Linked DNA regions of Homo sapiens: all the other regions are linked to region 3. The links are contacts of gene promoters, found by promoter capture Hi-C in blood cells and fetal thymus (Javierre and others, 2016). All regions are on one chromosome and are shown on one strand. Each heading gives the region's core, a stretch centred on a gene start or on the middle of the fragment in contact. The rest is flanking DNA. Distances are from core to core; before and after follow the strand shown.

Region 1 (3,559 bases), core at 348-2,847, about 15 Mb before region 3:
GAAAGGATAAAAAGACATTTCAGACAGACCATGAGAATCCATTGCCATCAGAACACCACTAAAAGAAATACTAGGGCCGGGCGCGGTGGCTCACGCCTGTAATCCCAGCACTTTGGGAGGCCGAGGCGGGCGGATCACGAGGTCAGGAGATCGAGACCATCCCGGCTAAAACGGTGAAACCCCGTCTCTACTAAAAATACAAAAAATTAGCCGGGCGTAGTGGCGGGCGCCTGTAGTCCCAGCTACTTGGGAGGCTGAGGCAGGAGAATGGCGTGAACCCGGGAGGCGGAGCTTGCAGTGAGCTGAGATCCCGCCACTGCACTCCAGCCTGGGCGACAGAGCGAGACTCCGTCTCAAAAAAAAAAAAAAAAAAAAAAAAAAAGAAATACTAAATGGAGTTTTTCGAGAAGAACAAGATCTCAGATGAAACAGAAAGAAATTTAGGCCAGGCACAGTGGCTAATACTAGTAATCCCAGCAATCTGGGAGGCCAAGGTGGAGGTTCATTTGCATCTAGGAGTTCAAGACCAGCCTGAGCAATATAGCAAGACTTTGCCTCTACAAAAAATCAAAAATTAGCTGGGCGTGGTGGCGCACACCTGCGGTTCCAGCTACTCAGGAGGCTGAGGTAGGAGGATCACTTGAGCCTGGGAGGTCGAGGCTGCAGTGAGCCATGATCATGCCACTGCACTCAACCTGGGTGACAGAGTCCCTGTTTCCAAAAAAAAAAAAAATTAGTAGGGAAAGAATAGCAATAGAAAGAGTAAGTATGTGAATATAAATGAATATTGACTGCACAAAGTAATATACTGCCCTCTGGGGTTTTGAATGTATGCAGAATTAAATAACAAAAATAAAGCAAAAATGAGGATGGAGGTAAATGGAGTTAAAGTGTCCCAAGGTCCTCTAGCAGTATTGGGGAAATGGTAAAGTCAATAATTTGTCCTAGACTAAAAGAAAGAGGAATGCTGTAATCTTTCAGGTAATCACTAAAAGATTTTTAAAAACATGTACAACAAATTGACAGAAAAAATGGATCCACCTTTGGCTTTGCAGAAAATGACAGTGCAATATGACAGCACAAAGATTTATAAAGAACCTAGATTCTTTTTTTTTTTTTGAGGGGGGTGGTGGGAGACGGAGTTTCACTCTTGTTGCCCAGGCTGGAGTGCAATGGCATGATCTCGGCTCACTGCAACCTCTGCCTCCCGGGTTCAAGCGATTCTCCTGCCTCAGCCTACCCAGTAGCTGGGATTACAGGAATGCACCACCACACTTGGCTAATTTTTGTATTTTTATCAGAGACGGCGTTTCACCATGTTGGCCAGGATGATCTCGAACTCCTGACCTCAGGTGATACGCCCATCTTGGCCTCCCAAAGTGCTTGGATTACAGGCATGAGCCACCACACCTGGCCCCAATCTTATCTTTATCTGGAATATGATATATTTCATTTACACATTCATTGTCCACTTCCCCAACTAGAATGGTATACTCTGTGAGGACAGGAAATCTTGGCTGTTCTGTTCACTGATATTTTCCTAGTGCCTAGAATAGCACCTGGCACAGATAAGGAGCTCAATGAGGCCAGGCGCAGTGGCTCACGCCTGTAGTCCCAGCACTTTGGGAGGACGATGCGGGCAGATCACAAGATCACGAGGTCAGGAGATCGAGACCATCCTGGCTAACACAGTGAAACCCTGTCTCTACTAAAAATACAAAAATTAGCCGGGCATGGTGGCAGGCGCCTGCAGTCCCAGCTACTCGGGAGGCTGAGGCAGAAGAATTCTTGAACCCGGGAAGCGGAGGTTGCAGTGAGCCGAGACAGTGCCACTGCACTCCAGCCTGGGCGACAGAGCGAGACTCCGTCTCAAAAAAAAAAAGAGCTCAATGAATATCTGCTGAATGAAGAAATACAATGGTTGACAGGAACAGGAAATAGGAACTTTCATACATTTCTGGTTGGAATAAAAATTAGTTCACCATTTGTGGAAGGTAAATACTTACATAGCCTCTGTGTTCTAACTGCATTTCCTTAGATTCTCTATTAGTCTATTTGGCACTCGTTCATCAAGAGGCCAATTATATTAACTATATTTTCTTATTTTCTGTATTCTTGATGCTCTGGCATTTGGGGACCTTACCAAAAACAGGGAGAGGCTGCTCCTCTCAGGGCTAATTCCTAAAGATAATCACAGTTTTCCAATGAGCACAGCTTACATATGCAAACCAACCAATCCTGAGTCTATACCTCTCTGATATTGTGATGTAATAAGAAATATGTATTTTGGTCTTTATCCATGCCCATGGTTCTTGGTTCATGGGTCCTAAAACCCTTGTAGTTTCCTAAACAGAGTATTTTCTGTTAAAACACTTGTTCTTAGCCAAGTGCGGTGGCTCACACCTGTAATCCCAGCACTTTGAGAGGCCAAGGCAGGCAGATCATGAGGTTAGGAGTTCAAGACCAGCCTGGCCAACATGGTGAAACCCTGTCTTTACTAAAAATACAAAAATTAGCCGGGTGTGGTGGCGCACATCTGTAATCCCAGCTACTCGGGAGGCTGAGGCAGAATTGCTTGAACCCGGGAGGCAGTGGTTGCAGTGAGCCGAGATTGCGCCACTGCACTCCAGCCTGGGCAATACAGTAAGACTTTGTCTTGGGAAAAAAAACAAAACAAAAAACAAAACAAAAACACTTGTTCTTTTGTCCTTGGTTATGTTCTGAATGTGTTCCCCAAAATTTATATAGTGAAACTTAATCGCCAATGTGTTAGATTAAGAAGTGGAGCCCTTCACGCCTGTAATCCCAGCACTTTGGGAGGCCGAGGCGGGTGGATCACCTGAGGTCAGGAGTTCGAGACAAGCCTGGACAACATGGTGAAACCCCGTCTCTACTAAAAATACAAAAATTAGCCGGGATTGGTGGCATGTGCCTGTAATCCCAGCTACTTGGGAGACTGAGACAGGAGAATCACTTGAACTGGGGAGATGGAGGTTGCAGTGAGCCAAGATCACGTCATTACACTCCAGCCTGGGCGACAAAGAGAGACTCTGTCTCAAAAAAAAAAAAAAGAAGTGGAGCCCTTAGGAGGTGATTAAATTATGAGGGAAGAGCCTACATAGATGGAATTAGTGCTTTCAAAAAAAGGATTGAGGGAATGGGTCCAGCCCTTCAGTACCTTCTGACATGTGGGGACACAGCATTCCTGCCCTGTGGAGGATGCAGCAGCAAGGTCCCATCTTGGAATCAGAGAGCAGACCTACCAGACACCTATCCTGCTGGCATCTCAATCTTGAACTTCCCAGCCTCCAGAACTGTGGGAAATAATTTTCTATTATTTACAAATTACTTTTCAGGTATTTTGCTTCTCAGGTATTTTGCTGTAGAAGTACTAAGGGACTAAGACACTTCAGTTCCTGAAATAGCACCAGAGTAATAAATGTGAAAGATGTCTTTACTGTTCATTAACCAACCCCTTTCAACCACAAGTGAGTTAATGAGGTGAAGTTAGTAAAGCCCCTACATAACCACAGGATAGGGCAACCAAACATGTGATTAG
Region 2 (3,686 bases), core at 474-2,973, about 15 Mb before region 3:
TCGAACTCTTAGGCTCAAGTGATCCTCCTGCCTCAGCCTCCCGAGCAGGTGGGTCTATAGGCACACAGCACCATGCCAGACTAATTGTTTTTCTTTTTTTTTTTTTTGAGACAGAGGCTCACTCTGTCACCCAGACTGGAGTGCAGTGGTGCAATCTCAGCTCCCTGCAACCTCTGCCTCCTAGGTTCAAGCGATTCTCCTGCCTCAGCCTCCTGAGTAGCTGGGATTACAGGCGTACGCCACCATGCCTGACAAATATTTTTTATTTTTAGTAGAGACGGGGCGTCACCATGTTGGCTAGGCTGGTCTCGAACTCCTGACCTCAGGCAATCTGCCTGCCTCAGCCTCCCAAAGTGCTGGGATTATAAGTGTGAGCTACCGCACCAGGCCCAAACTAATTTTTAATTTAATTAAATTTTTTTTTTGGTAGTGACAGGGAATCACTACATTGCCAGGGCTGGTCTTGAACTTCTGGCCTCAAGCCATCCTCCCACCCTGGCTTTCCAGTGTTGGGATTACAGGTGTGAACGACCGTGCCCAGCCAACTGCTGCTGCTTTACCAACTGTAACTTTAGCCTCAAGCTATCCTTCCTATCTTCTAGAATAAAATTATTAAGATACTCAATCCTAAAACTGCCCAAGAGCAACTAAAGTAGAGGTTCACTGAGGTGCAGATGAGACTCTCACCACGTGACTAGAACCCTGAAATGAAATTCCACTACTTCTAATATATCCAATAGAAAGAGAAGGCATGACAATATCCACTGCGATATTGTTCATAATAGTTTCTGTATTTTACCAAACAAACATTAAAACAGCAATGTACAAAAAAGTTAATCTGCTATGCCATTCTGAAATCAAGAGAAAAAAATTGTAGTTGTTTTCATTTGTATACAGAACTAAGCAATCAAAGAAAATGAATAAAGCAGGTTATCACTACCGGGAGACACAGGTAGATGGAAGGCAGAGGTGGGTGAACCACAGTCCCATCTCTTTCACCATAATACTTTTCAATATATTGCTTTTCATATATTTCTAACTTTTGAACTAGGTATATGCATTGCCTATTCAAAAGATTAAACTATTCCTAATAAATTATCACAATATCTTCAGATGGATAAGAAATAACAATACACCCAGGCCGGGCATGGTGTCTCACACCTGTAATCCCAGCACTTTGGGAGGCCGAAGCAGGTGGATCACCTGAGGGTCAGGAGTTCGAGACCAGCGTGGCCCAGATGGTGAAACACCATCTCTACTAAAAATACAAAAATTAGCCAGGCGTGGTGGCTCGCACCTGTAATCTCAGCTACTCAGGAGGCTGGGGCAGGAGAATTGCTTGAACCTGGATGGCAGAGGTTGCAGTGAGCGGAGATCATGCCATTGCACTCCAGCCTAGGCAACAAGAGCAAAACTCCATCAATAAATAAATAAATAAATAAATAATTTAAAAAATAACATTACATCCATGAAATAAGAACGGGATGGCAATAAAAAAAAATTTAGGAAACAGGCTGGGAACAGTGGCTCATGCCTGTAATCCCAGCACTTTGGGAGGCTGAGGTGGGCAGATCACCTGAGATCAGGAGTTCGAGATCAGCCTGATCAACACGGAGAAACCCCGTCTCTACTAAAAATACAAAATTAGCCGAACGAGGTGGCACATGCCTGTAGTCCCAGCTATTTGAGAGGCTGAGGCAGGAGAATCTCTTGAACCCAGGAGGCGGAGGTTGCAGTGAGCCGAGATCATGCCATTGTACTCCAGCCTGGGCAATGAGAGCAAAACTCTGTTTCAAAAAAAAAAAAAAAAATTTTAGGAAACAAACTAGAGTTTTTAAAAATTAAAACATTAAGTTAAAATGTGGATAGTGGTAATGAGAAGCTCAATAGAAGGGCTGGAAGGCAAAAGGTGTCAAAGTTACCCAGAATGGATAGCAGGAAATACATAGAAAATAGTAGAGAAAAGAAATGGAGAAGCAACATCTGAAAAACAAGTTTCAGAAAGAAAACAGAGAAAACATTTGTGTTTGAGGAGGTGGTTTAGGAAGAAATGAAAAAATGCTTTCAAAATCTCAAACAAAAGTCACTTCTAACAAGGAATTCTATTTGCAGCCAAAACATCAATATAGCGTGATGACAAAATCAACAACAGTTTTCCTTGACAGTGCACCTCTCCACTGTCACACAGGTGGCCTCCAGAGACGGAGACATTACCCACGTGTTCATTCTTGACAGGAAGATCAAGTTTTCTTTCAGGAGCACCAAGTCTAGAGTCCAGCTGGTTCCTAAGGCCTGTCTGCCTCTGCCCTAAGGCTGTGGTGACAGATTAGAGCTATCTACTCTTGGACTGAAATTCCACCCCTTGGGACTCCTCCTCCTCACCTCATAGGAGCTGCCATGATCCTCTGGAGCCAGGGCTGAGGATTTCTGGGGTGAGGTCCAACTAGCTGGCATGGCCACACTGGATCTCAACCCTTTTTGTCTAGGGTGCCTGAAGTTTAGTGGTCATCTGTGAACTCAGCAGAGCTGCTCCGAAGAGGTGGGCTGGAGTCTGGAGGAAGGTCTGGCCCAGGGACTCCCCAGAGACACCCAAGAACCTAGAAAAACAATGTCCACGTAGTCATTCAACATTCACTACATAAACACTTCCTGGATACACCAAGGTGCAGGTCCCTGCGCTAGAAACCAGAGCAGTGGTTCCCAAACGTAGGTATGCATTCAAGTCACCTGGAGGGCTTGTTAAAACATAGTTTAAAATTCTCAACTTCACCCCTTCGATGGGTCTAAGGTAGGCCCTAAGAATTTTATTTTCTAATAAGTGCCCAGGAAATGCTGATGCTGCTGGTACAAGAACCACACTTTCAGAACTGTGGAGAACAGTGCTGAAATATGGGAAAAGCCATGAAATTTAGAGTAACATTACTGCAGATTTGAACTGCAGCTGTACCACTTTTCAACAATGAGAATATAAAGAAGTTACTCAGATTTTGTTTCAGAAATAAGGATGAAAATGCCTGTGTCACAGTTACTAAGATTAAATGAGATTATGCTTTTAAAGTACTCAATGCCTCCCTGCCATGCAAGAATCACGCAATAAATATCAGCAATTACCATGCACTATATTAAAACGTAATACAGAAAACCATGTCATCAAAACAAGTAAGATAATAAACATATCAGACAATGTTGATCTATATATGAAATAAAAATGATATGCGATTGAGTGTGCACACGGCATTCATTGTATACATATCCCCAATTGGTGCATGCAATTGGCCATGCATCTGGAATAAAACAAACTAGATCTCCACCTCACACAATATTTTTTTCTTTTAAGATGGGGTCTCGCTCTGTGGCCAGGCTGGAGTGCAGTGACACAACCTCATCTCACTGCAACCTCCACCTCCAGAGTTCAAGTGATTCTACTGCCTCAGCCTCCCAAGTAGCTGGGACTACAGGCATGCGACACCACGCCCAGCTAATTTTTGTATTTTTAGTAGAGTCAGGGTTTCACCATGTTGGCTGGGATGATCTTGATCTCCTGACCTTGTGATCCGCCTGCCTCGGCCTCCCAAAGTGCTGGGATTACAGGCGTGAGCCACCGCGCCCAACCCACCTCACACTATTAAGTAGACAAATTCCAGGAGCACTAAACATTTAAATACATGCATTTTTTAAAACCCCTA
Region 3 (3,561 bases), core at 495-2,994:
ACCTTAACACGTGGCCCTGAATATTTGTCTCTTTATTTGGTTCTCTCAAACCAAGGAAACACAAGACCCTCAATGTAGGCCAAATGCCTTTCTTCGGTGAAGTGTGGAAGTAACATGAAGATGAAAGGGGAGGTCACAAAGGAGAATCCACATAGCATCATGCCTAAGCAGTAGGTAATTCTCATATCAGTTTTTTAAATCAGGCCATATGGATGGTGAGAAACTACATTTTTTCCTTTATACAATGTTACTCTCACACCTCTTTAAAAGTCTTTATATATATTTAAAAGTGTTTATATACGGCCAGGCATGATGGCTTACACCTGTAATCCCAGCACTTTGGGAGGCCGAGATGGGCAGATCACCTGAGGTCAGGAGTTCGAGACCAGCCTTGTCAACATGGTGAAACACTGTCTCTACTAAAAATAGAAAAAATTAGCCAGGCATGGTGGCAGGCACCTGTAATCCCAGCTACTCGGAGACTGAGGCAGGAGAATGGCTTGAACGCAGGAGGCGAAGTTTGCAGTGAGCCCAGCCATTGCACTCAAGCCTGGGCGACAAAAGCAAGACTCCATCTCAAAAAAAAAAAAAAAATGTTTATATACACACTTCAATATGAAGAACAAGAAACACATAGAAAAAAAGAGGGAGACAGAGAAAAGGAATACGAGTTATAAATACAAATTTAGAAAACAATTCAAAAATATAAATACTGGGAAAATAGCCGCCTTTATATACTAACATACAAAACCTGAAACACCCATAAAAATATGCAGTACATTTGCAAGAGGAAGGATAAAAATAGGCTCTTGTTAATTTGTGCGCAGTAATTTAAAAACATAATGTTAAATAGAAAGCCTATTCATCCGCCCCCCTTCACCCCCAAAAAACTTTCATTTTCTGCAGGTTCAAGAGCATGGGTTGTTGTGGAAAGCCAGAGGATTAGAAAACTCATTGTGGAGGAGGTACTCGGACCTGAAACTTTTAGGAAATGTTAACGTTCATCAAGTCTGTTCCAGCCAAAGTTTGAGCTCAACACACACACACACACACACACACACACACACACACACACACACACACACACACAAAACCAGCCAGGGCTCTTGTGAAAAGACTTCGGCTTTCACTTGTCTCTAGACAAAAGACCACCACCCCGCCAGATAAAATAGGAAAACCTGGAATAGACACACACGTACACTGGATTCCCTTAATGATTCATCAATCACTAAGCCTCAGATTAATCCAGAATGTGAAACAGAAGTCACATTCGTTGACAAAAGCCACCCCATCGATTCTCAATCACTGAGCCCCACTGGGGAGTGACCCGCGAGGACCACAATCCCTGACCTCAGTACTCTTGGTCGTTGATCTATTCAGGCCTTTAATCACTGACCACCAGAGCCTCCATGAGGGACCCCAAAGATATCCTATCACAGACACCCACCAGGGACTCCTACCAGCTCCCCTCCAAAAGGAAACACCCGCCCCCGCCTCCCCCAACCCCCGCGCTACCTCCACCATATAGCGCCACCAACAACGCAGACGCCCTCAGAAAGCTCCCTCCCACCACGTTTCCACGCCCTGACCCACACACTGACCTGACTCTCCTTGGAATCGCCGCGACCTCTTAAAAGCTGAACTTACTTCCCTAAACTTCTTCCACTTCTGGGCCCCTCGCCCAACTCCCTCCCCCTCTAAACCTCCAGAGACGGTCAGCCGCGTTTCCATGGAGAGCGGAATGCGGCCTTCCGGCTTTTCCTCAGGAGGAGACGCGTCCGCGCCGGCGTCGCCTCGCCGCTCTGGGGGCGGCCATCTTTGAGTACGTGACGTACAGAAGGCACAGCGGCCGGGAGACGCGGTGGACGGAGGCCTCTTAAACTGTCCGATTTCCAGACACCTCAGCCCTGGCAGAAAATGGAGAGCTTATCAGAGGCTTGAGTTCACACAGGCAGACACGGCGTGGGGGTAAAGTCCTCTGAACAGACACGGAACAGAAATAAGTTAGTCTTCTCCTCGCAGGGGACAGTGAACGGCGCAAACTTCTCAAAGGCCAGAACCCATTATTACCACAAAGGCGCGGCATCCCTTCTTAGCGGTTATGATGGCTGTGACGTCTCAGCTCAATGGAAAATTAAAGTCACCTCTGGGCACCTCAGTCACTATTGTAAATGCGAAGCGTTTTAGAAGCCGTATAAAAACTGAAGCAAGAGAGACTAGAACAAAAAATAAGCGAGCGGTGCGTTGCAGGTAACGGAGCCAGAGCCCTTAGGGGAGAGCATCATGGGGGCGGCCATCTTAGGGGACGTTCGGTGTCCGTACGGCAGAACATATTCTCTCTGAGAAGCTTGCGGTGGAACTGGCCCATGGAAATGTCTTTAGAAGAGAAGAACCACCTGGCTCTGTTCTTGACTCTGGAAAAGAATCCTTTTCTAGAATTATTTAGGTTGTTGCCAGATTAATTTCCTTTAGAGAGTTTCCTTGCCCCCACGACTTCCTATCTTTAAAGCCAACAATAGTATGTGAAATCCCTTTCATATTTGAAACCACTGACTATTGCTGCTGCATCTCTCCGGTTTCTCCTATTCTTAAGTGCTTGGGCAATCCAGAATAATCTCCCAATGCTAAAGTCAGCTGATTAATAAACTTAATTACAATGCAGAGTCCTTTTTGCCATGTAACATAACCATGGGAATTACTCTGGGGTTGTAGATCTGGCTATGATATGATGACACTAATGAATATTTTGCAATAAAAACATACTATTTTAAAATATATATATACATATATCTTTATATATGTATATTTCTACAGAATTATTACAAGTTATGTCTTATGATGGTTTCTTATAAGAAGCAAGGAGGAAAAGGTCCTTAACATTTTCAATTGTGTTTTTTTTAATAATAAAGCATGCATTCTAATTTACAAAAACCACAATAAAGGTACTTTCATCATGTCAGTCTTGAGGCTGAACAACACTTAACATTCTTTTTCCTTTTACCTGTCTGCCTTCTCCCTTCCCCTACACTCTCTATACCCCACCCTCCAGGCTCTCTGTTCCATCATCTTATGCGTATGGCCCCTTTCCCCTGTGCCCTCTTATTACTTCCATCTATCACGCAGACACACACTGTCACTCCCCTAAACACTCTAGTGTTAAACAATTGCTGCTGATTGTTTTTTGACAAGTGCCCTATGGGTAGGAGTGTTCACATAAATAAAGTCAAGCCAAATAGAGAAATACTATGAGAATAGACCTATTCAGCAGGCTGCAAAGCAGGCTTAGTAGTGAACATTCTGTGGGGATGGAGGCTTTTGGGTGTTTCAGAGCCATTTCTGCCATTTTCAGAGCCATTTCTACCTCCTCAAGTGCAGATATTCTGCTAGGGTGCAGATATTCACTGTTACTGTTGTTAAAAGGTGGTTGCTTTTCAAGGCTACCTTGAAGCTGAGGATATGGGGATAGGATTAGGGCAAGCTAAATACCACAAGCTCACTGTGGCCGGCATTGTAGACTTAATTGGCCATTCTAGAAGAGGAACTAACTGGCTTCTAGCCAGG
Region 4 (3,746 bases), core at 854-3,353, about 15 Mb before region 3:
CAGTTCAGACGTTGGTTATTTCCTGTATGACAGGGCTGCTGTGAAAATGTTTTTACAAGTATACCAGCATATATGCATACCTTTCCAGGATATAAGTGTATGAAGGAATTGCTGGGCCATACAGTATGTTTTGCATCTTTAAATTTCCTAGATAATGCTGAACTGATCTACAATATAGTTTTATAAATTAAATTCCTACCGACAGCTTATAAACATTATAGTCATCTTGTATTCTAACACATGGTCATTTGGTATTCTAATCTTTAATGAATCTGCTGATACCATGATATATCATGTTGTTTTAAAAGTATAACATACATTCTGGGGCCAGGCATGGTGACTCATGCCTGTAATCCCAGCACTTTGGGAGGCCTACTGGGCAGATTGCTTGAGCCCAGGAGTTTGAGACAAGCCTGGGCAAGATGGTGAAACCCCATCTCTACAAAAAGTACAAAAATTAACCAGGCATGGTTACATGCTGCTATTGTCCCAGGTATTCAGGGGATAAGGTGGGAGGATTGTTTGAACCTAGGGAGGTTGAGGCTGCAGTGAGCTGCGATTGCACCACTGCCTTCCATCCTGGGCAACAGGGCAAGACCCTGTCTCAAATATATATATATACCATACATTCTGAAAAGTACAAAATCAAGGTATATGACCTGATGACTTGTATAAAAGTGAGCATATTCCGGGCTGGGCGCGGTGGCTCGTGCCTGTAATCCCAGCACTTTGGGAGGCCAAGGCAGGCAGATCATGAGGTCAGGAGATCAAGACCATCTGGCTACGGTGAAACCCCGTCTCTACTTAAAAAAAAAAAAAAAATACAAAAAATTAGCCGGGCATGGTGGCGGCCGCCTATAGTCCCAGCTACTTGGGAAGCTGAGGCGGGAGAATTGTGTGAACCCGGGAGGTGGAGCTTGCAATGAGCCAAGATTGTGCCACCGCACTCCAGCCTGGCCGACAGAGCGAGACTCTGTCTCAAAAAAAAAAAAAAAAAAGAAAAAGCATATTCCTTTGACCAGATCTCAAATCTGATAAGGAAATAAAACATAACTGGCATTACAGAAGCCCAAGTCTTGTCCAGTTCACTCACTACCCACTTCTCCTAAAGAGAACTAATAGTTTGTCTTCTATAGCCATAGACTAATTTTACCTATACTTGAATTTTGCTTGGCTTCTTTTTTTTTCACTTTTTTTTTCCTACTGTCAGTTTCACTTGGAGATGATGCTTGGCTTCTTTTGCTCAATATTGTATTTCGTATGTAATATGAATGTATTCTGTAATAATATGTAGTATAAATATATAAAATTCATCCATGTTGCTGCACGTTAGTTATAGGTGATATAATGAATATAGTGAACACATTATTATTGCTGTTTAAAATTCTGTTGTATGAATATAACACTTTTTTTTGTTTTTGAGACAGTTTCGCTCTTGTTGCCCAAGGTGGAGTACAATGGCACCATCTCTGCTCACCACAACCTCCACCTCCTGGGTTCAAGCGATTCTCCTGCCTCAGCCTCTCAAGTAGCTGAGATTACAGGCGCACGCCACCACACCCAGCTAATTTTTTGTATTTTTAATACAAACGGGGTTTCACCATGTTAGCCAGGCTGGTCTCAAACTCCTGACCTCAGGTGATCCGCCCGCCTCGGCCTCCCAAAGTGGTGGGATTACAGGTGTGAGCCACCGTGCCCGGCCGAATATAACACATTTTACTTATCCATTCCATTACTGATTGGCATTTGATTTCATATTGAGGCTGTTATGAAAAACGCTGCCGGGAACATTCTTTTACATGTCTTTTGGTGCACATATGAATGCATTTGTCTTGGGTGTATTTCTAGGAGTGAAATTGCTGGGTCATGGTTTCTGTATATGTTCAGCTCTAATAGATACTGACAGTTTTCTGAAATAGTGGTATCAATCTATATTCCAAACTGCAGTGTAGACTTTATGACAAGAATAGATTTTACAACAAGAAGCTTTACTAGAGATAAAGAGGAATAGTTTATAATAAAAAGATCAATTCACCAGTAAGATATAACAGTTCTGAATTTATATGCCTTCATAAAATGGCTTCAAATATATTTGACATAACTAAAAGAAGTAGTAGATAAATCACAATCTTAGTGGGGAGTTTTTAGCACTCTTCTCAATAGCTGACAGAACAAGTGACAAACCCAATAAAGCTATATGGTATTTGAACAGTGTGATTGACAAGCTTGACCTGATTGATATGTATAGAACAGTGTACCTTACAACTACATAATATACTTGCTTTTCAAATGCATATGAGACATTTATCCAAATTGATCATATGCTGGGCCACAAAGGGAGTCTCAATAAATTTCAAAGGAATGAAATAATACTGTAACTTTCCTGACCACAGTAGGTTAAGCTAGAAGTCAATAACAAGAAGATAATTGGAAATATCCCAGCCAGGTGTGGTGACTCATGCCTGTAATCCCAGCACTTTAGGAAACCGAGGCAGGAGGATTGCTTGAACCCAGAAGTTTTAGGCCACCCTGGGCAATATAGCAAGACCCCATTTCTAAATTTAAAAAAACAAAAATTAAAGAAATATCCCAATGTTTGGGATTTAAGCAATGTATTTATAAATAACTGGTGACTCAAAGAATAAATTGTGATAGATATTTAAAATATTTTAAACTGAGTGATAATGAAAAATAACATACCAAAATTATGTTTCTAAAGCTGAATATGAGGAAAATATATAGCTGTAAATGCATATGTTAGAAAAAAATGAATGTTGGCCGGGCGCAGTGGCTCACACCTGTAATCCCAGCACTTTGGGAGGCCCAGGCTGGTGGATCACGAGGTCAGGAGTTCAAGACTAGCCTGGCCAAGATGGTGAAACCCCATCTCTACTAAAAATACAAAAAAAAGTAGCCAGGTATGGTGGCGGGCACCTGTAATCTCAGCTACTCAGGAGGCTGAGGCAGAGAGTTGCTTGAACCTGGGAGGCAGAGGTTGCAGTGAGCCAAGATCGCGCCACTGCACTCCAGCCTGGGCGGCAGAGTGAGGCTCCATCTCAGAAAAAAAAAAGAAAAAAATTAATGTTGAAAAATTAATGATCTATGTATTCATCTCAAGAAGCTAAGGAAAAGTCTAGAAAGTTAAACCCCCAAAATTAAAATCTAGGAAATAATAAGAATAAAAGCCCAAATATAAAATTTTTAGTTTATTTGGTATTGCATATATTTAAGGTGTACGTGTTTTGCTGTACATAACGAACATATATTGAAATACAAAATGAATGTACAGTGAAGAAAACTAACAAAGGCAAAAGCTTATTTTTGGGAATTAATAAAATTAATAAATCTCTAACAAAACTTAAAATATGAAGTAACACAAAAATTGCCAATATCTGATAAGAGGAAAATTAAACCAACCACAGACTTAACTTAAAGGCTGAGGGCTCAATTAATTAATTAGTGTTTGGTACCTGGGACTTGGTTCCACAAAATAAGCTCATTGGAATCTGAGCCACTGATCATTATACTGGGTCCCTTTTTATACTTCATTGAACATGTAGATTTTTCTGGTTTTTTGTTTTTTTCTTTTTTTGAGAGACGGGCCTCTCACTCTGTCACCCAGGCTGGAGTGCAGTGGTGCAGTCACAGCTCACTGCAAACTCGACCTTCCAGGCTCAGGTGATTGTCCCATCACAGCCTCCCGGGTAGCTGGGACTACAGACAATGTGCCACCATGCCCAGCTAGC
Region 5 (3,699 bases), core at 194-2,693, about 15 Mb before region 3:
AAGGACATAAATATCTTTTAGTAAGAAGTTGCAGAGGCCGGGCGCGGTGGCTCACGCCTGTAATCCCAACACTTTGGGAGGCAGATGCGGGCGGATCACGAGGTCAGGGGCTCAAGACCAGCCTGGCCAACATGGTGAAATCCCGTCTCTACTAAAAATACAAAAATTAGCTGGGTGTGGTGGCGGATGCCTGTAATCCCAGCTACTCGTGAGGCTGAGGCAGGAGAACTGCTTAAAACCCGAAGGCGGAGGTTGCAGTGAGCCGAGATCGCGCCACCGCACTCCAGCCACGGTGAAAGAGAGAAACTTCGTCTCAAAAAAAAAAAAAAAAAAAGGAAGTTGCAGAACAATGTGTATTGTGGCCAAATCTCAGAAAAAAAAAATCAAACACATAGGTACATAAGCATACTACATATGTGGTGTTTTTCTGAGGCTGTAATGATAAATGCGGGGTAGCAATGTGATTTTCGCTTGTGTTGTGTGTGTAAATCTACAGCTAACTCCTCAAGTAGTCAGGAAAGGATGAGAGATGGATGAATGACAGATCTCTGGAGTGGGGCGTCCTGAGCCTTAGATGTGTGCACAGGAGCGGGGTGAGGTGAATGTGCGTGTGTCTGTGTGTGAGAGACCAGAGTTGACTGAGAGGAGTGGAAGCTCTCTGCCTGATCGTGTGAGCCTGAGGATAACGTGAATGTTTTTTTGTTTTTTTTTTTTTGAGACAGTTTCGTTTCACTCTTGTTGCCCAGGTTGGAGTGCAATGGCGCGATCTCGGCTCACAGCAACCTCCGCCTCCCGGGTTCAAGCGATTCTCCTGCCTCAGCCTCCCAAGGAGCTGGAATTACAGACATGCACCACCATACCCGGCTAATTTTGTATTTTTAGTAGAGGTGGGGTTTCTCCACGTTGGCCAGGCTGGTATCGAACTCCCGACATCAGGGCATCCACCCGCTTCGGGCTCCCAAAATGCTGGGATTACAGGGGTGAGCCACCGCTCCCGGCCTGTAAATGTGCTTTTTCTTTCACGTAAATAAATGAGATTTACACAAATAGCCATTCACAATCATGGTCACAGTCACCTACAAACCCCATTTACACAAATGATCAGGCACACAATCACACTGTCACTAAAGCACACCCACGCACCAGGTCGCTGTCCCAACAGTAACACACAGCCCAAAGAGAAACCCTACTTCCTCACGCATTCAAAACACACCCACCTAAGGGCTGATCCCGCACTCAGAGGCCTAAAACTATAGACATTCCCTTCCGCGGCACTGGTGAGCCAGGATTTCTTACCTTCAGCATTCTCAGGGAAGGCTCTGGTCCAAGCTCTGATTCGGATTCCAAGCGAAGCCACACGCCCAGCTCTTCCTTCTCCACCGGCCCGGGACATCCTTACCTGCCTCTACCCGGAGACCATTCCTGCGAGGCTCCTACCGGAAGTAGCTGTGGACAGCAGTGTCCTCTGGGAAATGCAGTCCGAGGGGAGAGCGCCTGGGGTGGAGCGGGTGTGTTCCGCCGGGCTCCGGGATGCACTTGCGCAGTTTCACCCGAGGCTGGAGTGACGCCAACCTGTTAATGTTCGTTTTCGGATTCTGGACTTCGGGTTCCGCTGAGGACGGATTTCGGAATAGGCACAGTGGCTGCCCCGAACCCCTCAAGGCGGCCTCCGCGGGCTGTGGCTGAAGATAATTTTCGGCGGGCGCGGACTAACCCGGCTTCCCTTTGTGGAGTTGTGGTGAGAAAGGTGTTTTGTTGTGCGCGTGTCCGAAGGTGACTCCGGAGGAGAAGGTGGATATGAACTGACGGTGAGGGTGTAGCGCGTGAGATTTGTATGTGAAACGATTTAAAAAAAAATTTTTTTTTTGGCCGGGCGCGGTGGCTCACGCCAAGGCGGGCGGATCACCGAGACCAGCCTGACCAACATGGAGAAACCCCGTCTCTACTAAAAATACAAAATTAGCCGGGCGTGATGGCGCATGCCTGTAATCCCAGCTACTCGGGAGGCTGAGGCAGGAGAATCGCTTGAACCCGGGAGGCAGAGGTTGCGGTGAGCCGAGGTCGCGCCATTGCACTCCAGCCTGGGCGACAGAGCAACTCCTTCTCAAACAAACAAACAAAACTGTATGTCATATATTTGACTCCATTTATTTATTTATTTAGAGACAGAGTCTTCTTGCCCTGTTGCCCGGGCAAGAAAAAACAAACAACAACAACAACAAAAAACTGTACGTCATATATTTCACTCAACTTTTTTTTTTTCTTTTTTTTTTTTTGAGACGGAGTCTCGCTGTCGCCCAGGCTGGAGTGCAGTGGCGCAATCTCGGCTCACTGCAAGCTCCGCCTCCCGGGTTCACGCCATTCTCCTGCCTCAGCCTCCCGAGTAGCTGGGACTACAGGCGCCCGCCACCTCGCCCGGCTAATTTTTTGTATTTTTAGTAGAGACGGGGTTTCATCGTGTTAGCCAGGATGGTCTCGATCTCCTGACCTCGTGATTCGCCCGCCTCGGCCTCCCAAAGTGCTGGATTACAGGCGTGAGCCACCGCGCCCGGCCTCTTTTTGAGACAGGGTCTTCATGCCCTGTTGCCCAGGCTGACTGCGGTGGCGCGATCCTAGCTCACTGCAGTCTCCACCTCCTCAGCTCCTCCCGCATCCACCTCCCAAAGTGCTGGGATAGCAGGCGTGAGCCACCGGGTCAGGCCAAAACGATTTATTTTATTTTTATTTTTTTGGTAAAGACAGGGTCTCGCTATGTTGCCCAGGCTGGTGGTCTCGAACTCCTGGGCTCAAGCGATCCTCCCGTCTCAGTGGCCAAAGTATTGGATGACAGGTGTGAGCCACCGCGCTGGGTGGTGAAACGGTTTTGAGGCTTTTTGAGAATGGCTGTTCTATATGCCCGCGTGGGGCTCATGCGGCGAGCGCCGCCACTCCCGCAGTGGCCCCTGTGGGGGTGATACGTGATGTGGCTTAAATGTGAGAGGCCACCTGGACCCGTGTGATTGCCACGTTTGCAGGAGCGCAGCCACGTGCACAGGGATCTTGTGACATTCTGTGTGAGGCTTTTTGCGCTGGGTCCACCCATGATTAGAGGACTAGTGTGACTGTGGCGGCCCCTGAGAAGGGAAGAAGCTGGTTGCGACCAGGAAGGTCTGAGATGGATGAATGACAGATCTCTGGACCAGGGCGTCCTGAACCTTAGATGTATGCATAGGAGCGGTGTGAGGTGACTGTGTATGTTTGTGTGTGAGAGTCCAGAGCCGACTTAGAGGAGTGGAAGCTGGCACATGTTATCTGCCAGAAGGGACAGATCCATGGTAAGGATTTTTAACCTTGCTGAGAGACCAGTAACTCCATCACCAAGTGTAATATGAGGAAATGGTGCTTGTTTGAGAACAAGTGATTCTGCTTGTGTCTGATTCTCATTCATGTATGTGAGATGGTTTGCACTTGAAACTGTCAGTGAGAGAGAAAGTAGAGTGAAATATATGACGTACAGCTGGCCCTCCCTATCCATGGGTCTTGCATTGTGGATTCAACAAACCTTCAGTTGAAAATATCTGGGAAAAGAAGTTGATGTTTGCATCTGTACTGAACTTGTACAGGCTTTTTTTCTTGTCATTATGCCCTAAAAAATAGAATATAACAACTATGTACATAGTATTTACATGGTTATTAGGTGTTATAAGTAATCTAGAGAGG
Region 6 (3,729 bases), core at 351-2,850, about 16 Mb before region 3:
TTACAAGTCTTTCATGTTGCGTCTTTATCTGTTTATAAACTTCCCAGGCTTCTTCTAAAAGGAAGTACAAAAAAATCATAATTGAAAAAGTTAATATAATATATAGTGCCTGGCATGTAATAAGCGTCCAATAAATTAGGTTATCATTATCATCAACATAATATCACTAACACCTTTGAAGTTTCCCATTATTAATATAATTTCAGAAATGTATTACTGTAAAATAGATTCTTTTTTTTTTTTGAGATGGAATTTCGCTCTTGTTGCCCAGGCTGGAGGGCAATGGCGCGATTTTGGCTCACCGCAACCTCTGCCTTCCAGGTTCAAGCAATTCTCCTGCCTCAGCCTCCCGAGTAGCTGGGACTACAGGAGCCCGCCACCATGCCTGGCTAATTTTTGTATTTTTAGTAGAGGCAAGGTTTCTCCATGTGGGCCAGGATGGTCTCAAACTCCCGACTTTGGGTGATCCGCCCACCTCAGCCTCCCAAAGTGCTGGGATTACAGGCATAAGCCACTGCGCACGGCTGTAAAATAGATTCTTTATCCAAGCCTAGTCTCATTATAAAATAAAGTTCAAATACAAATAACATTCCCAGGTATGTGTAATTTTAATTGCTTTTCAATGTAACCCAGCACACTTCATAAATCAGTAAAATGAGAGAAAATAAGGCTAGGTATGGTGGTTCACACCTATAATCCCAGCACTTTGGAAGGGTGAGGCAGGAAAATTGCTTGAGGCCAGGAGTTTGAGAGCAGCCTTGGTAACACAGCGAGACTCTCGTCTCTATAAAAAATTTAAAAACTAGCCAGGCATGGTGCCTGTAGTCCTAGCTACTGAGGAGATTGAGGTGGGCAGATTGCTTAGGCCCAGGATTTCAGGGCTGCAATAAGCTATGATCGTGCCAGTGTCTGGGTGACAGTGCAAGACTCGGTCTTTTATTTTATTTTTTTGGGTCGGAGTCTTGCTCTGTCGCCCAGGCTGGAGCGCAGTGGCATGATCTCGGCTCACTGCAAGCTCCGCCTCCTGGGTTCACGCCATTCTCCTGCCTCAGCTTACTGAGCAGCTGGGACTACAGGCGCCCACCACCATGCCCTGCCAATTTTTTGTATTTTTAGTAGAAACGGGGTTTCACCACGTTGGCCAGGGTGGTCTCGATCTCCTGACCTCGTGATCTGCCCGCCTTGGCCTCCCAAAGTGCTGGGATTACAGGCGTGAGCCACTGCGCCCGGCCGACTTGGTCTTTAAAACATAAGGAATCGGTGAGAAACAGGATGAAAGGACAAATACTTAAAAGACTGGGAGTGCATAGGAAGACAGGGCAAAAATAAAATGAACAGAAAAGTTTAAATAAGGTGCTTATTTCTATGTCTTCCCGAAACACCATTAAAATGACAGTAAAAGGGTGAAGAAGGACACATAAGAACTAAACGGTTAAGAAGATATCAGTGGACAAAAAGTATTAGGAGGACTAGGGATAGTGGCTCCTTCCTGTAATCTCAGCACTTTGGGAGGCCAAGGCAGGAGGACTGCTTGAGGCCAGGAGTTTGAGATCAGCCTAAGCAGCACAGCAAGGCTTTATCTCTACAAAAATTTTAAAAATTAGGTAGGTGCAGTAGCATACACCTGTAGTCTTAGTTACTTGGGAGGTTGAAGTAGGAGGATCGCTTGAGCCCAGGAGTTCGAGGCTGCAGTATGCTATGATCATGCCATTGCAATCCAGCCTAGGTGACAGAGTATGACCTTGTCTCTAAAAAAAAAAAAGTATTAGGAAATTTTGGAAAGAAAGCAAATAGAGAACTGTAAATTAACAGCAGAACTGAGTGGTTTAAAGAAAAGCCAGCAGATGTGGGGGCCACCTTCACAGGTCTGTAACACAGATATTGACAGATATGCTCTGTCAGTGGAGAAACTGGGCAAGAGTGGAAGGCAGGGCTTACAAAATGACTGTGAAAGGACCAGCTAATGCCCTGAACTCTCCTAGCTGGACAGAAATGTGAAGTTTATCATCCAGACAAAACCAAGAGGCTCCAAATTTAGTGATGACCAGCAAAGTAATGAGAGCATCCTAGTAAGAGAAGAATGAGTAAAAGTTTATACACATAACAGAGGCTCTTCTACTGTTAGAGTCCGAGAATGCTGGTGGTTACTAGCTGTCAGATGATGGAAGAATTATTTTCTTTTTTCTTTCTTTCTTTTTTTTTTTTTGGGACGGAGTCTCGCTCTGTTGCCCAGGCTGGAGTGCAGTGCGATCTCGGCTCACTGCAACCTCTGCCTCCCGGGTGAAGGGATTCTCCGGCATCAGCCTCCCGAGTAGCTGGGATTACAGGTGCCCGCCACCACGCTCGGCTAATTTTTGTATTTTTAGTTAGAGACGGGGCTTCACCATGTTGGCCAGGCTGGTCTTGAACTCCTGACCTCATGATCCACCCGCCTTGGCCTCCCAAAGTGCTGGGAATACAGCCATGAGCCACCGCACCCGGCCCGGAAGAATTATTTTCTGAAAAAATGAGAAGACCATGAGAACACCTACAGATGCTAACATTTGGAATCATCTAACGAAACACATCTATATTACTGATTGATGCACAGTGAAAACCACCATTTCATAAGCCCCGCTTACATACACAAATTAATATAGAGCTAAAGATCAGAAAACATTTGATGAAAGTCCTAACATCAAAGGCAGATCAAACAAAATACAAGGCAAAGAGCAGAAAAACTCACCCATATAATACTACAATTAATATCATGGAAAGTTAGGAGATTACTATTATCACTGCAATGAAATATTAACAGTGTTCTATAAAGAGGTGTTTTTAGAAATAAACAATATGAAATTGATCTTAAAAATTCAGTATGTTGGGGAAAGAAAGTCTAGAAAATCTCCTAGAATAAAAAAAGGAAGAATGGAGGAAGGCAGAAAGAAAGAGTGTAATGGTTGGAACATTTAGTGGGTTAGTGGAAGAATCTGGAAGGATCAGCATCTACTAAAGAAGTTCCAAAGAAAGTATGAAGAAAAATGAATACAGGACATTTTCAAAGAGCTAATAAAGAACACTTCCCAGAATTACAAATCATGAGTCCACATACTTAGCAGGCCCATTGAGTACAAAGAACATTCCATTTAAAAAGATAGCGGCGAAAGCACATCAATACAAAATTTCACCTAGGGATAAAAAGAGGATCCTAGTTTGAGACCGGCCTGTGCAACACAGTGTGATCTTGTCTCTACTAAAAATAAAAAAGATTATCTGGGTGTGGTGGCATATACATGTACTCCCTTCTACTTGGGGAGGCTGAGATGGTACGATGGCTTGAGCCCAGGAGAGTGAGCTATGATTACCCTACTGAACTCCGGCTTGGGCAAGAGTGAGACCTTGTCTTAACAAAAAAAAAAAATCCTAAATGTTCCAAAACATTTATCCTATAAAAGGAAATAAAAGAAAAAGACATACCACATCAAAAAGGCATCAGATTGCAAGACAATGGATAATCCTAACCATAAGTTACTTCCAACTTAGACTTCTAGGTTTTACAGTTCTGTCTGAAAGCTTGGGAAGAATCAAAACACAAAAATGGAAAACTAAGCAAACAAAACAAAGAAGCAAATATTAATTAAAAGAAAAGCAAAAGGTTATACAAGAAATCAAACAGAGTCATAGAAAATCATTTGGTTTACCAGTCAACAATGCTTACAGTGTTATAGTTACGTAAATGCTTACAAATGC
Region 7 (3,820 bases), core at 134-2,633, about 15 Mb before region 3:
CCTGGCAGCTCTGTTATCTGGGGTAAGACACAGGAAAACGTGCTTCCGGTTCTCGGCGGAAGTAGCCCCGAACGGTAGAACCGATGGGAAATGTAGTCCAGGGCAGAAAAGCGGTCAACCCAGCCACGATGCGAGCCAAAGGATTCTTGGCTCCAAGCCTGGTCCTGGCTGTTAGTTTGGAACTCATGCACCCAGATGCTAACTCGCCCTCAGAATGCAGAGGGGATGAAACACTGACCGGACAATTCAATCTGTATATGGGTGAGTCCAGGGCTCAGTCTGCATTGCGCGGAAAATGAAGGTGAAGGTGGAGGTGGGACCTGATGGTCTCGTCCCGGATAGGGTTGAAGAAGTGGGAGAAAAGGAATCAAAATCGTGGATGGGATAAGATTGTGCGCGAATGCTCTCTGGGAGCGGATCGTGGCCGACGAGGGCCCGAAGATGCTGCCTTGTGATCGCAGGTGTGAGTGGAAGCTGTGTGAGTGTCAATGTGAGTTGCCTGTTTGGGAGACCAGCATTGTATTTTTGTATCAGGTAGTAACCTTGGAGCCAGGTATTTGTAAAATTATGATAAGAGGGCATCATTCTGGAGCATCGATTTTATTTGGAGGTTGACAGGAGAGGGAAAAAAACCCCTAATATCTGATAAACAACATAAATAGATTTTTATGTTAAAGTAGTTATATTTATTACGGTCTAGAATGCAAATCCAACATGGCTTTTAAAGCAAGAAAGATTTTTTTTATACAAAGTCAAAGGTATTATTTTTATACACTTACTACAAAACATACAAATAGTATACCAAGCCTAAGAATATAAAGAGTCTAGCTTTAATTAATTGAATGTAAATTTAAAAACAAGCATCTAATAAGTAGTCCTTTTCACACATCGAAAAGCCAATTTCGGAATTTTTTTAAAAACTCAAATTACAAAGTAACAAATATCTGGTGTCTTAGTAACTTGAAGATCAGTACTAATGATTAAGCCAGCTTATATGCTAATATGATACATGAAAAAGCCTGTATTTCACAAATAGCAAACCACTAAAACTTTAATTTTCCACAGAAGCCATTGTTTCACACCAATAATTATGTTAAAGATCAAGACAGGCTAAAAGTTTTTAATGAGCACTGAATCCATTAAAACTTGGCAAATTTTTCCACGAAGGTAGAATTTTAATTTCTGTTTAAACCATGGGTAGATGGTACACCCTTGTGAGGGTGTACTGTAAGTACTTCTAAGGAGCTTTATCAGACTTCATCCCAAATTATGTACCTAGTAAAAGATGTACCAATGTCTACTTTGGAATAAGAAATTATTCCTTGTTTGAGCAAGGATTAAGCAGAAACTGAAAGAAGTGTAGTTTATAGCTTCTTACATAAAGTAGATGGGCACCCCTCAAAAACAAACCAATATCCTGGCTCCTTAAATATCAACATTAATCTAAATAATGTATAGCATGCTCCTGTCCAATCTTTCCCGCTCATTTGTAGTCTTCTCAGATCGATGCTTCATTTTAGTCACACATTTCTATCCTGCAAGACTGGGTACCTGGGCTTTTTGTCTGGTTTTGTAACACTAGGCAGTTTTGGCCTTACTCAAAATATAAGACTGCAAAAGGCCTGTTTTACCTCAACCATACGGCTTCAGGAAATGGTCTGTATTTCCAACAGAAAAGTGGTATCTAACTCTCAGGATGGTTTCTAACAACTGGATAGATACCTGGGTCTTTGCGGCCTGTGATGCAGCCTAACAATACAGGACCTTGTGTGATCAGCTAGGTCTGCTAAAGCAAGGGGACATCCATGTTCTAGATTTTTATTTATTTATTTTTTTTTGAGACGGAGTCTTGCTCTGTCGCCCAGGCTGGAGTGCAGTGGCGTGATCTCGGCTCACTGCAAACTCCGCCTCCCGGGTTCAAGCCATTCTCCTGCCTCAGCCTCCTGAGTAGCTGGGACTACAGGCGCCCGCCACCACGCCCGGCTAATTTTTTGTATTTTTCGTAGAGACGGGGTTTCACCGTATTAGCCAAGATGGTCTCGATCTCCTGACTTCGTGATCCGCCCGCCTTGGCCTCCCAAAGTGCTGGGATTACAGGCGTGAGCCACCTCGCCCGGCCCATGTTCTAGATTTTTTATTCTGGTTTAGCAGGATCCAAACTGCCTGTCCTGAAGAGACTCTCTTTCTCTTCCATACAACGGCTGGCCTCTACCAAGTTAACTGCTTCGTGGGGGGAAAATATTGCCTTTCCTTTGGTCTGCATGTTTTAAGGGAAATACCAAATACACCTACAGGAGTTTATCAATAATAGACAAGGCTGATTTCAAACTCTTTCAGGAGATAAACTGGAGGGGAAGACGAATGGCAGGAGGGTGAAGAGGAAACTGAATTACTGTGCAAACACCCGCCACTCAAATCCGGGTGGTTACTGCAGAGTGAATAACGATAGGTACTATTTCGTGTAAGGCAAAGTCCTTTGAAAGGGCTCCTAGAGCGTCAAGGCCTCCACCTGATGAATGAATGAGTCAGGCAGGCCCAGCTCCACTTCACGGATGGGAAAACTGAGGTACGAGGCCTCGCTGAAAGATGCGAGGCAGAGCGGAGAACCAGAAGCACCACTTCTCTCAGGCTGATGCTCTAATCTCGGCTCCCCCCGCCCCTACAATGGCGTAGACGGCCTCCGCCGCCCGACTCACACACACCCTCCCCCGGGAACGGCAAGTCTCCTCGGGTTCCAAGGACAGGGTCAAAAGACAAGAGGCCCGAGGCGCTCCCGCCGTGATTTGCAGCCAGATACCGTTGGGAGCGCAGCCAGAGAGCGTTGGGAGCGTGCGTACCTCCAGCCCAACATGGCGGCGGCAGCGGCCGCCCCCGACCCCAAGCCCTCCCTCAGGGCCCGAGGCTTCTCCTCAGGGCCTTCCGGTGGGCGGGAAGACAGCGCAACCCCGCCAGGCCTTTCTCGTCGCTGCGCCTGCTCGCTGAAGGAGTCACCTACCCGACGAGACTAACGGCTGCGGCGCGGAAGCCCCACAGCCCGCCGAGAACCAGGAATACGAGAGCCAGGCGGCGCGGCGGCGGGACCTGTACTGAGCAAGAAAGAAGATTTCAAAGTAATTTATTGTTATGAGATCCGTGCTTTTATCTTGTCTCAGACTCCCAATGATAGGCACATACTCTCCTCTGTACATTTAATGAAACTACTAAAATATTTCGATTTAAATCTTCCACCTATTTGTTTTCTGTGTATCCTACCTGTTCCCGACCTTGACATTTTCAAAGAATACAGGTTACTTATTTTGTTTTTTGGTGGTGGTGAGTTTTTTTGGGGTTTTGTTTTTTGGTTTTTGGTTTTATTTTTGGAGACAGGGCTTTGCTGTATCGCCCAGGCTGGAATACAGTGGCGCGATGATAGCTCACTGCAGCCTCGAACTCCTGGGCTCAAGGGACCCTCCTGCTTCAGCCTCCCGAGTAGCTGGGACTACAGGCCTGCGCCACCACGCCCGGGTAATTTTTTATTTTTTGTAGAGATGGGGTGTTCTATGTTGCCCAGTGTGGTCTCAAACTCTTGGGCTCAAGAGATCCTCCCACTTCTGCTGCCCAAAGTGCTAGGATTACAGGCATGAGCCACCGCGCCGGGACAGTTATTTTGTAGAGTGTTCTTTAATTTGGATGTACCTCATCTTTTATGTATCTTTGGGAGGAATACCACATAACTCATGTGGTTTATCCCATCGAGAGACACACAGTGTCAATGTGTTCCATTCTTGGTGATGTTAACTTTTATTACTTAGTGAAAATAATTCTAAGAGATTTCACCACT

Evidence for each region. Contacts are between HindIII fragments. The CHiCAGO score rates a contact against its expected background, and 5 or more counts as called.
Region 1: a contact is called between a fragment that was not itself captured here and the fragment with the promoter of ZNF432 in region 3, in 2 of 17 cell types (non-activated CD4 T cells and activated CD4 T cells). The highest score is 5.2, in non-activated CD4 T cells.
Region 2: a contact is called between a fragment that was not itself captured here and the fragment with the promoter of ZNF432 in region 3, in 2 of 17 cell types (total CD4 T cells and non-activated CD4 T cells). The highest score is 8.3, in total CD4 T cells.
Region 4: a contact is called between a fragment that was not itself captured here and the fragment with the promoter of ZNF432 in region 3, in 3 of 17 cell types (total B cells, non-activated CD4 T cells and total CD4 T cells). The highest score is 7.2, in total B cells.
Region 5: a contact is called between the fragment with the promoter of ZNF461 here and the fragment with the promoter of ZNF432 in region 3, in 4 of 17 cell types (non-activated CD4 T cells, naive CD8 T cells, total CD4 T cells and 1 more). The highest score is 11.3, in non-activated CD4 T cells.
Region 6: a fragment that was not itself captured here is called in contact with the fragment with the promoter of ZNF432 in region 3 in 2 of 17 cell types (non-activated CD4 T cells and activated CD4 T cells); the score reaches 5.7 in non-activated CD4 T cells.
Region 7: a fragment that was not itself captured here is called in contact with the fragment with the promoter of ZNF432 in region 3 in 1 of 17 cell types (naive CD8 T cells); the score reaches 7.5 in naive CD8 T cells.

Annotation. Positions count from the first base shown.
Region 1 is chr19:36,844,693-36,848,251 of GRCh38, forward strand. It overlaps a transcript of ZNF790 not described here. Among named protein-coding and RNA genes, the nearest start is that of ZNF345, 4.4 kb to the right of the region's middle. The HindIII fragment of the contact is 5,910 bases long and covers 1-3,559 here.
Region 2 is chr19:37,204,658-37,208,343 of GRCh38, forward strand. It overlaps ZNF585B (zinc finger protein 585B), which reads right to left. Exons shown (of 5, transcript NM_152279.4): 2 at 2,383-2,597. The coding sequence starts at 2,454. Among named protein-coding and RNA genes, the nearest start is that of ZNF585B, 4.0 kb to the right of the region's middle. The HindIII fragment of the contact is 4,710 bases long and covers 1-3,686 here.
Region 3 is chr19:52,047,094-52,050,654 of GRCh38, forward strand. It overlaps ZNF432 (zinc finger protein 432), which reads right to left and starts at 1,745. Exons shown (of 5, transcript NM_014650.4): 1 at 1,602-1,745. RefSeq lists an enhancer at 1,528-2,117. The HindIII fragment of the contact is 4,326 bases long and covers 1-2,345 here.
Region 4 is chr19:37,220,976-37,224,721 of GRCh38, forward strand. The region is part of intron 1 of ZNF383 (zinc finger protein 383); the gene reads left to right. Among named protein-coding and RNA genes, the nearest start is that of ZNF383, 4.6 kb to the left of the region's middle. The HindIII fragment of the contact is 239 bases long and covers 1,985-2,223 here.
Region 5 is chr19:36,665,394-36,669,092 of GRCh38, forward strand. It overlaps ZNF461 (zinc finger protein 461), which reads right to left and starts at 1,444. Exons shown (of 6, transcript NM_153257.5): 1 at 1,297-1,444. It also overlaps a transcript of ZNF567 not described here. RefSeq lists an enhancer at 1,621-1,750. The HindIII fragment of the contact is 6,595 bases long and covers 1-3,699 here.
Region 6 is chr19:36,515,646-36,519,374 of GRCh38, forward strand. ZNF260 (zinc finger protein 260) reads right to left here. Exons shown (of 3, transcript NM_001166037.2): 3 at 1-54. Among named protein-coding and RNA genes, the nearest start is that of ZNF260, 11 kb to the right of the region's middle. The HindIII fragment of the contact is 3,899 bases long and covers 1-3,550 here.
Region 7 is chr19:36,773,049-36,776,868 of GRCh38, forward strand. It overlaps LOC728485 (a long non-coding RNA gene), which reads left to right and starts at 105. Exons shown (of 2, transcript NR_164117.1): 1 at 105-461; 2 at 2,338-3,820. RefSeq lists an enhancer at 1-19. The HindIII fragment of the contact is 5,631 bases long and covers 1-3,820 here.